3 separate regions of the Homo sapiens genome follow, and all the other regions are linked to region 2. Evidence: promoter capture Hi-C in 16 types of primary human blood cells and fetal thymus (Javierre and others, 2016). All regions are on one chromosome and are shown on one strand. The core of a region is centred on a gene start or on the middle of the fragment in contact, and the rest is flanking DNA. Distances in the headings are between cores, read along the strand shown.

The links. Contacts are between HindIII fragments. The CHiCAGO score rates a contact against its expected background, and 5 or more counts as called.
Region 1: a contact is called between a fragment that was not itself captured here and the fragment with the promoter of CXCL2 in region 2, in 1 of 17 cell types (monocytes). The highest score is 5.0, in monocytes.
Region 3: a contact is called between a fragment that was not itself captured here and the fragment with the promoter of CXCL2 in region 2, in 2 of 17 cell types (M1 macrophages and megakaryocytes). The highest score is 6.9, in M1 macrophages.

The regions. Positions count from the first base shown.
Region 1 is chr4:73,891,574-73,895,660 of GRCh38, forward strand. No RefSeq gene overlaps it. Among named protein-coding and RNA genes, the nearest start is that of CXCL1, 24 kb to the left of the region's middle. The HindIII fragment of the contact is 1,267 bases long and covers 2,037-3,303 here.
Region 2 is chr4:74,096,930-74,101,061 of GRCh38, forward strand. CXCL2 (C-X-C motif chemokine ligand 2) reads right to left here and starts at 2,266. Exons shown (of 4, transcript NM_002089.4): 1 at 2,092-2,266; 2 at 1,870-1,993; 3 at 1,672-1,755; 4 at 111-842. The coding sequence starts at 2,191. The coding sequence ends at 827. The HindIII fragment of the contact is 3,135 bases long and covers 1,728-4,132 here.
Region 3 is chr4:73,858,768-73,862,674 of GRCh38, forward strand. No RefSeq gene overlaps it. Among named protein-coding and RNA genes, the nearest start is that of PF4V1, 7.4 kb to the left of the region's middle. The HindIII fragment of the contact is 2,261 bases long and covers 1,427-3,687 here.

The sequences.
Region 1 (4,087 bases), core at 1,420-3,919, 200 kb before region 2:
TTATTTTTCAGTCATGAGTAAACTCGGTGGTTTCCTATTTATTTATTTATTTATTTAGAGACAAAGTCTCGTTATGTTGCCCAGGCTGGAGTGCAGTGGGACTATCCTGGCTCACTGCAACCTCTGCCTCCTGGGTACAAGAGATTCTCCTGCCTCAGCCTCCCAAGTAACTGGGACCACAGGCACGCACCACCTTGTCTGGCTAATGTTTGTATTTTCAGTAGAAATGGGGTTTCACCATGTTGGCCAGCTTGTCTCAAACTCCAGACCTCAGGTGATCTGCCCACTTTGGCCTCCCAAAGTGTTAGGACTACAGTGTTAGGTGTGAGCCATGGCACCTGGCCTGGTTCCCTTTATATATCATGTTAGACACTTAATGCCAGGCAGTATATTTTGTTCCCTGAAGCAACTAGTTTGTGCTTTGCACAAAACAGTCACTCAAGATTTATTGCATTAAAAAAAATTTCAAAAAGTATTGGTTGAGAAATTATTAACCAAAATATCACTTCAGCTATTTCCCACATTTCTCAATTGCAACAAGCAATAGTCTTGAGCAATAAAAAACTTCCCAGGACTCTTCCTCTCACATTCCACTTGAGTTTACATAAAATAATGTGAATAGGCCCAGTTTGTTTTTCTTCTAAAATGGTGCAGCTGCTGAAACATTCAACTGACACTTGTTTGAATTGTGATAATAAATGTGTTTCATCAGTCCAATTCACAGAACTCCCTAAGTGGCCTCAGTTCACAGGCAAAGAAGGAATGTGACTCCCAAGGAGCATAATTCTATACAGATGTGGTCAAGTGAGACACAAAATCCCAAACTGCAGGCAAATACATGAAAAGATGTGAGGAAGGAAATCATTTGCATAGAACATAAGGTATGTGTTGCCTTAATTGCTTGTATAGTTGAGGTAAAAATTGTTGGCCAGAAAATAGTCTGGAATCATTTTAGAAGTTGTCATAACCCAGGTAACAAACGCTAATTTCATCATTTGCTACTTATCTAGCCTAAGATACTATGGATCATAATACAAATCATTACCTTACATACCATTCAGAAAGGGAAAAATCAGCCCAAGTAATCTGTGTTCTCCATCAGTGATAAGCCATGCCACAATTATAGAGATTTTAAAATGTGATAAAATGTGCCTTTTAGACTCACTGAAATACAGCATGTGTCTTATCATCTTCAACACTCTATTTTCAGGCAGTTGTGCATTGAGTTGTAGATTGTACTGCTGAGGAAAAGCAAGTCTTTTACCTGTAATCTTGCATCTATCACCCATGATATATCTACCTACAGAGAAAAAGAGGTGTATTGTAAAGTTGACTCATCTAGTCTCTCTGCTTCTGAGGGAAACATTGACTTATTTAGATGGGTGAGTTTGAAACAATCAACTTTGCATAACATCTCCTGCTTACCTTTTTCACAGAACCACTCACCCTCCTGTAAAGTAAATGATCTGTTCTGCTCTCTGCCAAGAATAAAAGTAGCTTATCGCATAGGGCATACCTAAGATTTTCCAACCCAGCTTGTGACTACATAGATAGGTCTGCCTAATTCTGGGGGTCAGTGTTAGGAAGTACACCTGTCCACAGAAACAAACCACTGGCTCTAGTACCAGCTTCATTATTAGTAAGCAGGATATTTTTATATCTTATCTAAGTTACTTTCTTTTTCATCTCAATTGAATCAAAAGTCATAACTCAAGAAGGGATAAACGATGCTACCTGTAGGCTTCCTAGAAAAACAACTAGCATACATGCACGCCCTTGGCTCTGATGAGCAGGAAGCCCTCTATACTAGAACGGAAAAACTACAATAAGATGGTCCATTAAAGGTGGCATTGTGAAGTTCAATCCATCATGTAATCATCCCTTTCTCATCCTGCCTGACACAGTCATAATCACAACCCCAGTCTGCTTCTGAGTGTGTTGAGTGTGTTATTTCTTATCTGCCCAGGGGGACCTATTCTTTCTTCTCATTCTCCTTTGGCTTCTCTTAGCCTCCTCCCAACAAAAATGCAGTGCAAAGCTTTATTTATAACCTGTGATAGGTTTGGCTGCCTTTGTTCTGCCATCAACCGTCAGAGAAGCAACCCAGGCACTAATTCAAACCAAAGAGCAGGCAGCCATATTCTATTGGAGCGGATGTGGCATGGTGTAAAGATCTCATAAGGACCATGTGTTGACTCCCTGAAAGCCATCACATTAGAATAAATAATTATACCAATGCAACCACAATCTACTTTGCTTGTCCACATTCTCAAAGACCAACAAACTGAGACCAAAAGCAGCTATGACTTCCAGAAGTGAAGTTTGAAGATAGAACGACTTCGGCCCAGCTCCACGTTTATCCTATTTCTTTGTATGCATTTTATATTGAAAAAAATACGGTACATTTTCTTCATAAAAATTCTGCTGGGATGCTTATTTTTATTTTCTTCACCTAGGAAAATCATTCCCATACACTGCACTGACTTTTAGATTATGTAATATAACTTGTAATTATTTTATTTTATTTTTTTTTTGCAGCTTGCCTCACATCCTCTCAGTCCTCCTGCTACTCAGCAATTCCTGCAGCAAACAAACTGCTCTGTGTGAGTTTAACCAAACAGCATGTGGTGTTAGCTACATTCCATGCCCTCGTTTCATGTCCTGGAGCTTTTCTAACATGGGAGCACCCAGGAGTGACAGGCAGTTGACCTCCTTTGTGCCACTGATGGATATTATGGGATGGGAGCTGTCAGTTAAATTCTCCCCACTTCTACCCCTAGGACACATTATTCTGAGGCACAACTACGATAAGCATTATCATTCTCTTCACCTGGAAGAAGTTGTAGAGGTTCCATCTCAGAAGACCAGAAACAGCATGATAAAGCATGGACTTCCTCAAGAAGAAGAAATCACATTTAGAGCTGTTGAATTTAGAACAAGGCAGAAGGAGATGGTCAAACTAGTTTGTTCTACACCTTGTTCCAACATCTTTTCAAGAGAAAAATCACTGGCCCTAATGGAAGGATGTTTATGTAACTAACATAAAGAGATGTCATAATCACCAATTAGAAAGAGAGAATGCAGATGAGAATCAGAGCAATGCTCAGTGCTCACTGAATCTATATTATAGCAGGCTAATGTTAGTCTAAGGCTGACTCTATGTGCAATGACTTAAAAAATATTATTTTAGAGTTCTTCAGAAGACTTAACAGTGCTTTTGGCATTTATTCCATTACAATGTGCTAGACAGACATGATAATTTGTAGTGATACAATTGTTCAATACAGGTAACTTATTTTACCAAGCTTTTCTTCTTTTTTTCAAATCAAGATGGTTAAACTGTTATAGTAGGTAGCTAGTCAGACATGAACAGGGCAAGAGAAGGCTCCCCTCACACATACACAGCGGGAACACCAGGCGACCAGCAGATGATGGTCAGGCAGTTGTTAACTGAGTCTCTAAAACAATAATTGGTCACAGCCAGTACCAGGGGAGGGCAGTCTCCCCATAGATAGAAAACACCTGAAACTAGTGATCAGCAGCTTCCCAATAAGATCTCAGAAGTTGGGTGAGCGGGCTCAAGCATGCACATTAAAATGGCAGAATTTAATCAGCAAATGACCTTCCAGGAACATTTGACTGGTAAAAGAAGAACGCCTCAAGTGAGCATGTGTGCAACTCCAGTAAACACACTGTACATGCTCAACTCCCAAGTGCTAGCAGGCCACTGTGCATGCAGACAGCCCATCCCAAGGGAAGAATCGGGAGAAGTAAGGCAAGACCCTGGAAGTACGCCAATGTATAAAACCGCTAGTCAGAAGGTCAAACCTCACACTGAATCTCTCAAGTCACCCACTTGGCCCTCTTCCAAGTGTACTTTACTTTCTTTCACTCTTGTCCTAAAGCTTTCAAATAAGCTTTCACCCCTGCTCAAATACTTGCCTCAGTCTCTCCTTCTGCCTTATGCCCCTCCGTCAAATTATTTCTTCTGAGGAGGCAAGAATTGAGATGGCTGCAGAATCATACAGGTAAGGATTTGCTGCCGGAGCAAAACTACCAGACAATGTCAAGCACAGTGTGTTCCCAG
Region 2 (4,132 bases), core at 1,016-3,515:
ATAGCAGATTGAAAACCCAGAAAAAAATTGAGAAATAAATATTGATGTAAATCATCAGATTTTTCAGCAAATATAGTCCTTGTTTCCCCCAAAATAAAACAAACATTTTATATTTTTAAATATTTTATTTTCCTGTTCTTTGTGAAAACATCAATAAATATCGAAACCTCTCTGCTCTAACACAGAGGGAAACACTGCATAATTAACATTAAACAAGGCAGTATGCCTTACAAGAAAGACATAAAATGTCCAAGGGATATTTAGAACATTTTAGTTCTTAAAGCTTCAACATGAGAAATGTTGACCACACACTGTGAAATCATTTCAATAAATAACAACTGACATTCATCTTTACAGTTACAAAATAGACACACATACATTTCCCTGCCGTCACATTGATCTCACTGGCCATTTTCTTGGATTCCTCAGCCTCTATCACAGTGGCTGACATGTGATATGTCATCACGAAGAAATATTAACAAATGACTAGAGAATATCTGCAAACCTTCTATCTTCAAATTAAATATGAATCAGGATTGAACTAACTTGGGTTTGACCTAAAATAAACAATAAATATAATGGGAGAGTGTGCAAGTAGATTCAATCATAACCTTATTTTACACATAAAATATTAACATAGAATCTTCTAAAACAAACAAATAAATAAATAAATAAATAAATAGAAGACTTCTCCTAAGTGATGCTCAAACACATTAGGCGCAATCCAGGTGGCCTCTGCAGCTGTGTCTCTCTTTCCTCTTCTGTTCCTGTAAGGGCAGGGCCTCCTTCAGGAACAGCCACCAATAAGCTTCCTCCTTCCTTCTGGTCAGTTGGATTTGCCACTGTAATGAGAAAATGGGTGCCCTGAGTAGGTGCTCAGGAAAGCTGACTGCACAACAGTCTTCTCCTGTCCTGTTTCCCCAGGCTCTAGAGTTTTCTGAATGCAGTTTCCCCAGCCTGGCACCCAAGTGGGTACTGCCTGTGACAGCTGTGCTGTGTGGCAAGGACCTCTAGGCTTGGGATGCTCTTTTAGGAATGGGGGTGACGTGGGGTGGAGGAGTGGCAGTCTACACTGTTTTACTGGCTAAAACAGCCAGAGCCTATTGCTCTTTGTCATACTGGGCCTCACTTGAGCCTCAAAGCAACCTCATGATGTAGCTACCATTATTTTCCCTGTTTTGCTGAGTCTCAGATAAACTAAATAATATTGTCTCTGAGTGACATGGCTAATAGGTGGTGGCAACCAGTTATATACCCAGTGCAATATTATTGTGAAATCTCTGCACTTCAACCCTAAACTTTTACAAAAAACCAGGGGGTCTGCTTTTCAGGTCTGAAAGTCAGTAGGAACTAGGGGAAATGAAGCTTGTGTTTTTTAACAGGTGGAAAACACTTCAGCACAACTGGCAAACTCCAATGAGACCTTACATGAAAGCAGTTTTACCTACATTCACTGGCAGGAGGGAAGAACCTGGGTGGTGACCCTGGGCACTGGGAATATCCTCTGGCACCAGAACAGATTAATAACCTTAATGGCAACTTTGTGAAAATAATAATTTTTTCAGTCCTGCAGCTAACCCTGGGTTTTCCTGATTTACTTTTTAGGGGGCAGACGCCAGTATTTCTGACCAACAGCTCCAGTCGCCTGTGTACATGGAAATTATAACTTACTTTTTCAGCATCTTTTCGATGATTTTCTTAACCATGGGCGATGCGGGGTTGAGACAAGCTTTCTGCCCATTCTTGAGTGTGGCTCTGCAGAGAGAAGGGAATCTCGTGAGACAGGAGGTCGGGCTGAGGACAGGGTTTGGGGCAGCGGGAGAGTCGGGGACCCCAGCAGTGGCAGCGGCAGCGATGGGCGAGACTTACATGACTTCGGTTTGGGCGCAGTGGGGTCCGGGGGACTTCACCTTCACACTTTGGATGTTCTTGAGGTGAATTCCCTGCAGGGTCTGCAAGCACTGGCAGCGCAGTTCAGTGGCCAGGGGCGCTCCTAGGGAAGAAGAGACTCGCTGATTGAGCGGGGCTGTCGGCGCGGGGCGCCCACCCCAGCCGCGTCCGGCCCGGGGACCCCAGGGCGCCGGGACCCACCTGCTGCGCGCCGGCTGGCGGCCACCAGGAGCAGGAGCAGCAGCGCCACCCGCAGGAGCCGGGGATTGCTGGGGGCGGCGGAGAGCGTGGCGCGGGCCATGGGGCTCAGCAGGCGGTTCGAGCGGCTGTGCGAGGAGGAGAGCTGGCAAGGAGCTGCCTGTGGCCCGGGCTCTGTGGCTCTCCGAGAACGGCGAACCCCTTTTATGCATGGTTGGGGCTGGAAAGCCCGGAGTCCCGGGCCAGGGAAATTCCCGGAGCTCCAGATCGATCCCGAGTTCGGAAGGAAGGCGATGGCCCCGCCTCTGGGGTGGAGGGGGGTCGGGGCACTCACGAGTGACGTCCGGGTCTGACTGTCTTGCGTAACTCCCGCCAACTGTGGGATGTTCTCTTTCTGCCCCGAATCCCTGGAGCGGGAGCGAGAGCCCGCCGCTCTCAGAGATACCGAGATAACCGCCTGCGAGGAGGCGCTTCGTGAACCCAGTGCAGTGCGTCGTGGGTCAGATCCCTTAGACCCACGTAGGGACCGCGCTACATCCTTACCGGGGGGAGTTACTTCTCTGGAAGACATTTCAGTTGTTGGGATTGAAAGTTAGGGCAAGAACTGCAGCATGTCTTATCTATCCTCTCTCTTTAGTTTGGGTTCTGCAAATTTCATTAATGTTTGAAATAAACGCACGCTTTAACAGTACATGTGTCATCTCAGATGACGCATAAGAGCTTTTGTCTCCTTCCTGGTGTTTTATGATCTTAAAAGCAAATATCACGTGTGTGTGTGTGTGTGTGTGTGTGTGTGTGTGTGTGTGTGTGTGTTTCAACGTAGTGGAGCCAGGTGTTGGGTGCGGGAACAGACCATTGCCAAGGGTCAATTCAGTGTTTATTTTAGTTAACAGTGTTGCAATCCCCCATCCTTTCTCTCTTTGAAATCTTGGAACATCTCGAACTCTAGTAATTCCAGTAGCATCAATTTTTTGTTGTATGGAAGTCTGTGTTTTGATCCATGGAAGTCACTGGGAGCTGCGAGGGGCCTGTTGGGCTCAGGAGGTCTGCCTTTTCTAGTGCTGTCCCTGGGCAGAAAAGGCCATAGACACCACCAGAAAAGGAGCAGGGAATGAGACTCCGCTTGTTTACTACTCTAAGCACAAGCAGACATGTCTGATATATACATACTAGATTGCTAACATAATTGCATTTCCATGCCATATGTATTTACCAGCATCCTGGGATTGGTTCCCTCTAGAGAAACAGCTATCGAGGAAATTTTAGTTCTAGAGGAATGTCAATAAAGCATTTCCAAGCCTGTTTAGCTGATGCCTTCTCACTGGATTACTGACTTTTCATCATCAATTTCAATGACCCCCTCTCTTTAAAAATTAAGCTGTAGGCCTACAATACTCTGTCTTAATTCTTCCTGGTGGATGCAGACTTCAGGGATATGGAGATATTCTGCCACTGCTATGAGAAGGGCTGGGAGTGGCACGAGGATGAAGAAGTGGGACTACCTTAGGAATAGAGTGTTCCCTGGATGCTGCAGCTGTAGAGATCACTTGATAAGGATGTCAGGGCTGAAGTTTCAGCCATACCACTAACTTGCTTCATGACCCTTGGTAATTTATGCTTTATTTGCTCATGTTTCTCCCCTGTAGAAGAGCTTATAATAGTGCCTGCCTCACGGGGTTGTTAGAAGTATTGATTGTTAATATGTGTAAACCATCAGTGCATGTAAAGTGTTATGTAAATATTTGTTAAATAACAAAATAGAAGTGGTGTTTCACAACCTTACTGATATAGGCTGGATGTTTGTGTCTCTTTCAAATTCAGATGATGAAGCCCTGACTCCCTTATGTGCTAATATTAGAAGACAGGACCATGGGAAGTAATTAGGTTTAGGTGAGGTTATGAAGGTATGGCCCCCATGATGGGATAAGTGCCATTACAGCAAGAGATCAGTGAGCTTTCGATCTCTGGCTCTCTCTCCCTTTCTGCATTGTGAGGACACAGCAAGAAGGCCACCATCTGCAAACTGAGAAGAGGGCCCTCACCA
Region 3 (3,907 bases), core at 1,307-3,806, 240 kb before region 2:
TGTGTTCTATTCTACTCTATCCTACCACATTCCATTTTTTAAAAGATGTTGGCCACACCACTATAAAGTGATTTCATAACCTACTGATGTACCATGATGTGTAGTTTAAAAACACTCCTCCAGTTCTTTGATTAAAGAGTTAAGTTGTGACGGTCTATATTGGATTCCACACTCCAGATAAAATGCTTGAAGAGCCATTAGGGGCAGGATACTAAGGCCTAGCTGAAAAGTTAAATCTCCTGGTCTATAGTGTTCCTTTAATCTCAGTCACCATCCCTCACCTGGGGTTGGAGTCTCGAGGAAACCCATGAAAAACAGCTTCTGTGGTAAAGATGTCACACCAAATAGGATGTTGTCGGGATTGTTGAGACTCTAGGTCCTTTTCAGCTTGGGCTACCATTTATATTTCCTGACCATCTGCTTCAGCCGTGTACTGCCTAGCTTGGTCCCAAATGTAAATTGGGTTAAGAACAGAAAACACATCGATTTCTAGGAGGGCTCAAATAAAAGCAGCATATTCACACTCAGTGGACTTAACTAGCTGTTATATAAAATTCTTCCCATATGGGTTTTTTCCTTATTATTCCTGTAGATGCTGGCATTAGCCCAGTGGGCTTTTGAGAAAGACAGTTTGGGTTGTATCTCAGCTTTGACTCTGTGTGACCCTGGGTCTCCTCAGTTCCCTTATTCCAAAACAAGGACAATAAAGCCCACCACACAGGGTACTGAAAAGGATTAAATCACACTTACAATAGGATCCAGTATGGGTTCTTACTCAGAATTGAAACCTAGTAAATAAATGTTTCCTTTCCTCTTCTTGGAGTTCTACTCTCAGGGAACATAACATTTCCAGCAGAAGCCACAATCCCTGAGCTAGCAACCAACTCTTTAAGAATACAGCCAATAAGCCAGTACTTCCCTTGCTCAGAACCACAACCCAAAGCTTGGGTGCAGACAGCTAGTTAAGAAAAAATTTAGCATGACAGACACAAGTAGTATTTTCCTGATAACAACTAAAAGAAAATTAAATAACAAAACCACAATGTTTGTCAGCCAGCATATCTGTAAGATTATAAAATATACAGGACATCTAGTGAACTGTATATTTATACAGGAGGCTGGCTTAGCTATTTTTCCAGGAAAGAAAACAAGAAAAAATAAACTTTAGACTTAAATTTGCCAAGTATTTACTTCTTCACTGAAGCAGGCACAACATGAGGATTATGTCACTATTCAGCATTTGTGGTGAGAGGCAATCCAACTTGAAACAGAGCAGTCAAAACAGAGTTGGAACAGCCAGCTCTTACTTATCAGCTGTGTTGGAGAATCAGTTTTCTTTTCTCAGTAATTCTAGGGATAGCTATAGGGAATGTTAGGAAATAAGCAATAAAGCAATTTACACACGCCTCCATCAGAATAACTATTAAGCTTCACTGTAATTATTCCTTTATCTATTTTCCTACTTTAAATCAGAGAATAAGGATTAAGCCTATTCCATCTCTTCATTCTGGATTTCAGAAAAATGCCTGATAGAGTAGGTGTTAAGTAAATGTGTGTCAAATATTAACTACTTGGAGAAGAATAAATCTGCAGTTAGTGCTGTGAAGTAATGGTGCAGTTGGGTGCTAAGGATAAGCTACTCAGCCAACAGAAAGTTAGTTGAAAATTAAAGAAAGACACCGTTTTCCCAGCTCTCGATCTTGTTAGGCTCACTGATCTCATCAAGTTATTCATAGACATTATAACACACCCATACTATCTGCCTCATCAGTGATTTGTTTGATGTTTTAATTAGAGTCGCATTCGTAACTATTAGGGACTCTGTTAAGAGTTCCCCTCGTCTGTCTATTCACGTGCTCTCATCATACACAGATGCTATGATATAGACATATTAAACATTATTTTATTATAGATGTTTGCTTCAATGTACAACATACAGATGGTAAATTACACACAACCAAGCCCTTGTTCCTCCTCTTTCACTATAATACCCACCATATCTAATTAGATCTTGTATTTCTTTAGTGTCCTTAATTAACTACTTACTTAATTAACTAGAAATGTCAATCAAGGAACTAGCTCAGTCACACACCAGTAGAGCAACCTCTTTGAAATCAGTATTGTTCAGGAAAATCTGTTTCAAAGATTACCTAAGTAAATGGACTGATCAAGAAGGTAAAAAGGAAAACACAAATATTTCTTACCAAAAAATTGAAGGATAATGAATGTTGGAAAATACTATGGACAAGATGTTAACATAAGTTCTCATGATGATTCAAACTTTTCTTTGCTGAAATCTGCGTTTTTATGCTATGTATGCTATTTTCATTTGTGGTTTATATGTTCATCCTTCAATTTCCTAAATTTTGTTTTCGGAATGACAAAGTCATAATAACGTTTTCTTCTCCAAAACAAATTTCTTGCATAATTATTTCCAAGAGAAACTTTTCATTTCCTTATCCTTTGCAATCCTGTAATTCTTTTTTTTTTTTTTTAAATATATGCTCATGATGTCATTACTTGGTGAATACCACTTCCAGATAGGTCAGAAAACAATCTTAAAGAAAACAGAGATGCAAAAAGATTTATAAAAACCTTTTTAAAAAACAATAACCAGCCGGGCATGGTGGCTCACGCCTATAATCCCAGAACTTTGGGAGGCTGCGGCGGGCGGATCACCTGAGGTTGGGAGTTCGAGAACAGCCTGACCACTATGGAGAAATCCCGTCTCTCCTAAAAATATAAAAAAATTAGCCATGTGTGGTGGTACATGCCTGTAATCCTAGCTACTCGGGAGGCTGAGGTAGGAGAATCACTTGAACCTGGGAGGCGGAGGTTGCAGTAGCCGAGATCATGCCATTGCATTCCAGCCTGGGCAACAAGAGTGAAACTCTGTCTCAAAACAAACAAACAAACAAACAAAAAAAAAAAAAAAAAAAAAAATATAAAAACAATAACCACCCCTCCAAAAAAAAATCTGGCAAAGCTAATATATCAAATGATTCTCAGTGTTACCTGAATGATTTTAAGTATCTGTAGACTAATCATAACATCAGATTATCATGCCAGGAACAGAAAAACAAATAATATAGCATTGCAAGAGAAAGTAGTCAGGCTAAACAAAGAATTTTACATTAGAATTCATATTTTATCCAACTTTTCCTCTTCTACTAAACTTATCACTGTGCCTTTTACACGCAGATGAATTTTAAAATGTGTGGGAAGAATAGCTATTATCTACTCACTTACTGCCTAGATCATGAACCTGTAATGACCTGGATTGTTCTATCAGCCCTAAGGCAAATGACCTATAAACCAAACACAGATATTCCAGCTCCATCTGTGACAAGGACCTCCCTGGCCTTATTCCTAACATTGTTCCCCTTCTGTTCCACACCTGGGAGAGCTCAAGCCCTCTGGCTTTGGATGCAGGTCCCATCTGTCTCTTTAAATGTATTGGCAGACCTGGGCATCAGAGCTTTCTAAGGACTTTGGTTCAGACTCATTACTCTGGCTTTCCCAGGTAGGGGATCCCCTTTTCTAGCTCTTACTATAGAATTCAAACTGTGGCTCTGACCCAACTGTCATATCTGGTTTCATTAAATGTCCACTGGCATCTTTTATTCTGGTCCTGAAAAGTCAAAATAGGCAAAAGAAACTAAGGAAATTCCACACTCCATCAAGGGAAGCTTCCACATATCCTGACTTAAGGATATTTTAGTTTTAAAACAGTGACCTGAAACCATTGACTCATGCATTATGTCAGCAAACATTTGTTGAGTGCTTAGCATGAACCAGACTCATTTTAGAGACTTTTTCTTCTAGCTCCTTCTAACTCCCTGTTTGAAAACTTATCTTCATGTTTACATCTTCTTTTTCCAGAGTCCTGGCACAAAGCTTCCCGTGA